Regions from separate parts of the Homo sapiens genome. Here region 1 is linked to region 2. Evidence: promoter capture Hi-C in human tissues and cell types (Jung and others, 2019). All regions are on one chromosome and are shown on one strand. Each heading gives the region's core, a stretch centred on a gene start or on the middle of the fragment in contact. The rest is flanking DNA. Distances are from core to core; before and after follow the strand shown. Region 1 overlaps SKAP1 (src kinase associated phosphoprotein 1). Region 2 holds the start of CBX1 (chromobox 1).

Region 1 (3,428 bases), core at 252-2,751, 240 kb before region 2:
GTTATTTCATTTAGCCCTTTTGACAATTCATGTTTTTTTTCCCTTTCACTGACTTGATAACCTCCACATAAGAACTGGGGGTTGAATCACACAGAAACATTTTATTTTGTATAATAGCACAATTAGTAATACCCAAGTTTTAAAATGGGGTTTGTAATATAGGATCTGTGTATTGATTCAGGTATTACACTAAAAACATTGTTTGGATTGAAAGTTTAATAATTACATTGGTAGCTGATTAATAATTGTAGAAAATTAACAGTGCAAAACAGGAAGAAATCAACTTTTCATTTGTTTTTGATTATTCTAATGCTTGACAGAATTAGAACAATAATGCCTCATTAATCCTTAGGTCACTTATTTGGTATTTCCAACTTTCCCAAACACAACTGAGAACACAATAAGTAATCCAGAAAGGCCTCTAAGTGGAAATAGATGTGACTTATGTACCTTGCTCTTGGAAGAACCCCTAAGGCCCTTTGCTGAGGAATCTTCTTACAAGTTTCTAACCAATACAGTGTTTTGGTTTCTCAGCCCACAGTAGAGCTTCAAATTAGAAGAAGGGGTACTATAAAGGCATCAATTAACAATAAGATTAAGGTAAGAAACAAGAACAAAACTTTATATAGAAAACAAAATCTATAAATAAAATTTATCTAAGAATAATTTTTTTTAAATAGCAGTTTGGGGTCATTTTCTATGATAGAGAAAAAGAGTGCATGCTCACCTAAGTGCTCAGTACCTTAATAAATTAAAACTTCTTTAGCCAGCATTTATTGTTTATTGAGCACTTACTATTTGCCTTGCATCATCTGTATGGTAAGCACTCTGCATATGTCATCATTTGATCCTCAAGACTGCCCTAAAATGTGGATATTAGGTTTACCCTTATTTTACAGACAAGGAAACAGACTCAGGGAAGTTAACTTATCTAAAATCACACAGCTGGTACGTAGTAGTGCCAGGATTTACACATACATAGTCTGGTTCTAAAACCTCTGCTCTTAACCACTCTACTATCCTTACCACTATCCTTATCTGAGATATCCAAAAAAATAGATTCATACTCCAAACATTTTGGCAGATTCATACTCCAAACATTTTGGCTAAGACCATACAGATAAAAATACTATGCTTAAAAATATTTTCATTAAAATAGTTGAAATTTAGGAAAAACATTTGTGTTGAAAGAGGTAAATCTGGAAAACTCCAAAGTGCAAAACTCATAAGAGGAGTTAATTATATTAGTAATATTAAATTCTTACTTAATAAATTTTTGTTTTTAGTTCTATGCATGAAATTAAAGAATTCCCAAAGTGACATAGTCAATGGTAGAGGTAGGAATAGACCTATTTCTATGTTAAAAACTTGATTGTAAGATGATGTGATACTGTTTAAATGTGAGTTTCTGCAAAGCATTGAATCTAGCACAGTGCCTGAGTGCCTAATACATAACAGGCACAATAAATGTTCATTTTCATCCCCTGAAAATTAAAGATACATACATTTCCTGTGAAATTAAAGAGAAAGTTATAAAGGTGTCAAAATTTTTAGCAATCTCTATATCCTATTTAATTAGTTTTTACCATTATAGAGAATGGTAACACTTGATATGCTACTTATTCATTTTTTTAAACAAATGTTTGTTTAAAGATTCCTAGTTAACACCAAGACACTGTGTTAAGCTGCAGGTGAAAAATGCAGTGAGAAAGCAGATACAGTCCCTGCCCTCATGGAGCTTACCATCTCACTGGGAAAACTATTAATAAGTAGACAAATAAAAAAATATAAAGTTAGTGTCTTTATAGATAGCTAAGTCAATTATTTATGAAGAAAAAATATTCCTCTTTATTTTTTATTATTATTTTTTTTGAGACAGAGTTTCGCTCTGTCACCCAGGCTAGAGTGCAGTGGTGGGATCTCGGCTCACTGCAAACTCTGCCTCCTGGGTTCACGCCATTCTCCTGCCTCAGCCTCCCAAGTAGCTGGGACTATAGGCGCCGGCCACCGCGCCTGGCTAATTTTTTGTATTTTTAGTAGAGACGGGGTTTCACCGTGTTAGCCAGGATGGTCTCGATCTCCTGACTTCGTGATCCACCCGCCTTGGCCTCCCAGATATTCCTCTTTAACATTCTTTGTAATGACAGTTATTTTAGGCTTCTCGAATTTTGTCTTCATTAGAAAATGTGAAAATATTTCAGATATTTTGTCTTCCACTGTCAGCTAGAGTAGTATCCTAGACTTGCCATTATAAAAGGATACACAGTCGGGCCCATCCACCCATAATTTTAGTGATGAGGGGCAGTAACCATGCTGCATATTGTGTTTAGGTCATGACTTTGTGAAAACTACAAAGAGTGCTAGAAGAATATAGAAGCATGCTGCATATTGTGTTTAGGTCATGACTTTGTGAAAACTACAAAGAGTGCTAGAAGAATATAGAAACCTGGCCAGGTACACAGCAAAAAATGAAAACCAAGGTTACAGGCTAACCCATGCATAAAAATGAGAGCCTGTTGCTACCTAATTACAATTCCTTCTCCTTTTCCTTTGTAAATGCCCACAATTTGAAGGCAGAGAGAGACACCCACAAGAGCACAGCCCCACCATCGGGAACAAAAACTTGCTAACAAGTAATAACATTTAGATTTCTGAACTAAAAGCATAGTTTTTACCATATGGAAGGAAAAAAATGTAGTAGGAAACACTGACCACAATACTTAGTACAAGAGCCAGGCAACTACAAAGCTCAAGATCTGATTGTTTTCAGCGTCCAAATATACAGTGGATTTTAATGTATTTATAAACTTACTTTGTTAGTATAATGAAGAATCCCTGCATACCTACATTATTTTTTAAAGTGGATTGGGGAAAGTGATCATTCTGTAAGCAGGATATAGTGACTCCTTCTGGAAGAAAAAGAAAAAATAAAATTATTTTAGAAGAAACCTAAAATCTATGATAATGTATTTATTTGTTATATATGTTTACGTTCTAATTAAAGAATGGGTGAATGGATATTGAACAATTAAATCTGGATAGAAGTGAGAATATTTTAGAGCTTCTTTGTGCATCAGGATGTTGAAGGTTAGAGAAGATTCTTATTCTTCAGCAAAATGAGAAACAACTGGAAAAGGAAAGACCTGTAACTATCACTGGAAAAGAGTAGTAATGAATAACTGAAGAGACTGTTGTTGATTGATTTTATTACATACTTGTTGATTTAAAAGGAACTGCAAACATGTTAAAGTACCAATAGTAGCTATTTTCAACTCCATGCCATTTCTGAAAAGAACATTTAAAAATATAGAGAATATTCTGGAAATAAAAAGAACCCTTTTTTTACAGTGCTATTTTTAGCACTTTTAAGACATTTCTCTGTTTTCATTTTAGTTCTGAAATACAAGTCAATTTTGCATTTAAGATTA
Region 2 (3,274 bases), core at 387-2,886:
AATCCCCTTGCTAGGTATAGAGCGCTGATTGGTGCATTTCACAATCCTCTTGTAAGACAGAAAAGTTCTCCAAGTCCCCACTCGACCCAGGAAGTCCAGCTGGCTTCACCTCTCATCTTCTCTGTGCTTTCTTGAAGCCCTTTTAACTAAACTCTATTATGATATTGCTGGGCTGGGTTTTTCTTACATGACAGTTCTCCAGAGCCGTGAACAGTGCCTGCATCAGCAAAACTGTCTTATAAATGCAAACTCCTGCCCTGAACAGTGCCTGCATCAGCAAAACTGTCTTATAAATGCAAACTCTTGCCTTTTGGGGTAGAGTGCAATAGAGTTTCCCTCTTCCTCCTGATTAGAAGGATACTTTAAAATAAAAAAATAAAACTTTAGTTATATTGTGGCTTAAAAACATGTTTTTTTCCTAATTGTGTGTTTCCTTGGGATGATTGGGTGAAAGGTGCTGACGGAGATTAATGACACTGAAAAAGGTGAGCACAACTTACAATGAAAAAGAGGACATTTTTGTGGCGCAGCCAGTGAAAAGGGGGAAATTCAGGAAGCTATGAGAGGCCTATGGGGGGACCTAACCTACTCTAGGGAATCAGGGAAGACCTCAAAGGGGAAGTAATCTTAACACTGAACAGTATTTTTTTTTTTAGACGAAGTTTCGCTCTTGTTGCCCAGGCTGGAGTGCAATGGCGCGATCTCGGCTCACTGTAACCTCCACCTCCTGGGTTCAAGCGATTCTCCTCCCTCAGCCTCCCGAGTAGCTGGCACTACAGGCGCCCGCCACGACGCCCAGCTAATTTTTGTATTTTAGTAGAGATGGGGTTTCACCATGTTGGCCAGGCTGGTCTTGAAACCCTGACCTCAAGTGATCCACCCACCTCCGCCTCCCCAAGTGTTGGGATTATAGGCTTGAGCCACCGTGCCGGCGTGAGTAGGAATTTTACAGAGATTTGAGGAGGCAGAGATTGAGGACTAAGAAATCATTGGAAATTTGAGGCAGCGGCGATATGATAAAGTTCTGGTGAAGAATCTAAGATTCAAAAATTTTGAGGATGTGAATTACAGAACTGTCCAGAAGTGGTTGATTTTTTGGGGGCCAAGCATCAGGGGGCTCGCTTATAAAAATCATATGTTCTAATTTTTTTTTTTTTTTTTTTTTGAGATGGAGTCTCGCTCCATCGCCCAGGCTGGATCGCAGTGGCTGGATCTCGGCTCACTGCAAGCTCCGCCTCCCAAGTTCAAGCAATTCTTGTCTCAGCCTCCTGAGTAGCTGGGACTACAGGCACCTGCCACCACGCTCGGCTAATTTTTGCATTTTTAGTAGAGACAGGGTTTCACCTTGTTGGTAAGACTGGTCTCGAACCCCTGACCTCAGGTGATCCACCCGCCTCGGCCTCCCAAAGTGCTGGGATGACAGGCGTGAGCGACTGCCCCTGGCCCATATGTTCTAATATTCTAGGTTACAACGCTCTACGCTGCAATCTCTCCACCGTTACAGTTTAAAAACTATAAGTCCCTACCACCCTCGCCTACTGTGCGTGCGCGGCGCGCGGCGCTTCGGGCCTTGTAGTCTTGGACAGACCCCCGAGGCCCATGGTGCCGTGCGGCGGGTCGTTGCGCCTGCGCGGTGCGAGCGGCGGGCAGCGCAGACTGCGAGGCTCTTTTGTTCGGCTGAGGGGAGGGCCGTTGGCCGGGGCCTGCGGTACGCCGCTTCAGTGAGGGACGCCACTGCGGCCACCCGGCTTGCTGCCTTCCTGGGCGCCACTCCCCCAGGCGACCCGACGCGACGCGCCAGCAGCGCAGCACCGATTCCTCTCGGGCTCTTGGGCGCTGCTCTGAGGTGAGGAGCCCGCTGGAGGCGGGAGAGCTGGGGGAGGGGGCGCGGCGGCGGCGGCGGCGGGAGCCCTGCGTGAGGGAACGCGCTTTCGAGGCGGAGGTTAGGAGCGGGGAGCGCGCCCGGGTCCAGCGTCCTGCTTCTCCGCTTCCCGCGCTGAGCTCTTCGCCTGTCGCTGAGGCGTCGGTGCCAGCTGCGTGAAGGATGGAGAGGGCGGGGCGCGAATCCTGAGCCAGAGACTGAGTGCTTGGGGGTGGGCCGAGCACTTGGGGGCCGCTCTTCGGGGCCCGGGTGGTCTGGAACAATGTTGCTTGGCTGGGCGGCTGCGGGATAGGGCGGAAGGGGACAGGCTTGAGGCTTGGATAGGCGTGAGGAGGCGCATACGACCGCACAACCCGAGGTTTGTAACTGTATTCGGAAGACGCCGGGTCCGGCTGGGACTGCCAGAGGAACCTGGCTTTGCAGGACTACGGAGGAGTAACGTCGAGTGAATTGGAAGAGGGCCCAGGGCCGCACAAGGTGTGCTGATTGGAGGAGGAGATGTGTGGAATAAATTGGGAAAGGGGACACGGAGGGGGAGGGGCAGGCGTTTGCTGGGCCTGACTCTGGAAGGGGAGGAGCTGTTAGGATAAGTAGGGCGGAGATCCCGAGAATATTTCTATAAGGTATGTAAGAAAAAAGGGGAAAGCAGGCCGCCCTTGCATCCTGATGGGTCCTTACAGTGGGGAGGCTGTAAGAATAATGTGCGAAGAAAGGATGGAATACGCTTTTTTCAGTTTTCCAGGTTTCCTACTACCTTCACTCCATGATTCCTTTGGGGAGTTAAAAAAGTCCAAGTGCAGTTCTTGCTTTGATTCAAAATTAGTTCCGTACGTTTTTGTGTGGGATCGTAACTGGTCTCACAAAGGTGATGAAATTGTAAAAATATGTAGATGAGTTAATAGTTGAGGAACGGCGTGAGGTAGTGAGAGATTGTGAGATCGTGTGAGGTGCGAGAAATTGGGAGACATAGGAAAATTATGTGAGATTGTGAGGTAATATTTGTTTCGTGGGCCCTTCTGTTTTTAGCCAGCTTTTCCTTGTTGGAAAATTTGAATAGAGTGAGCTATATTTTACCTCTTTTTTTTTTTTTTTTTGAGAAGAGTCTTCCTCTGTTGCCCAGGCTGGAGTGCAGTGGTGCGATCTTGGCTCACTGCAACCTCCACCTCCCGGATTCATGCGATTCTCTTGCCTCAGCCTCCCGACTAGCTGGGATTACAGGCACACGCCACCACGCCCGGCTAATTTTTGTATTTTTAGTAGAGACGGGGTTTCACCGTACTGGTCACGCTGGTCTCGAACTCCTGACCTCGTGATCCTCCCGCGTCGGCCTCCCAAAGTGCTGGGATTATAGGCGTGAGCCACTGCGCCTGGCCATATTTTACCTCTTTTTCA

Evidence for each region. Contacts are between HindIII fragments. The study calls those that stand out against the background at their distance.
Region 1: a contact is called between a fragment that was not itself captured here and the fragment with the promoter of CBX1 in region 2, in 1 of the 25 tissues and cell types used here (liver).

The regions. Positions count from the first base shown.
Region 1 is chr17:48,341,429-48,344,856 of GRCh38, reverse strand. All of the region lies in intron 4 of SKAP1 (src kinase associated phosphoprotein 1), which reads left to right. Among named protein-coding and RNA genes, the nearest start is that of SKAP1-AS2, 49 kb to the right of the region's middle. The HindIII fragment of the contact is 7,800 bases long and covers 1-3,428 here.
Region 2 is chr17:48,099,840-48,103,113 of GRCh38, reverse strand. It overlaps CBX1 (chromobox 1), which reads left to right and starts at 1,636. Exons shown (of 5, transcript NM_001127228.2): 1 at 1,636-1,846. RefSeq lists enhancers at 1,218-1,477, 1,304-1,903 and a silencer at 1,848-1,897. The HindIII fragment of the contact is 10,755 bases long and covers 1-3,274 here.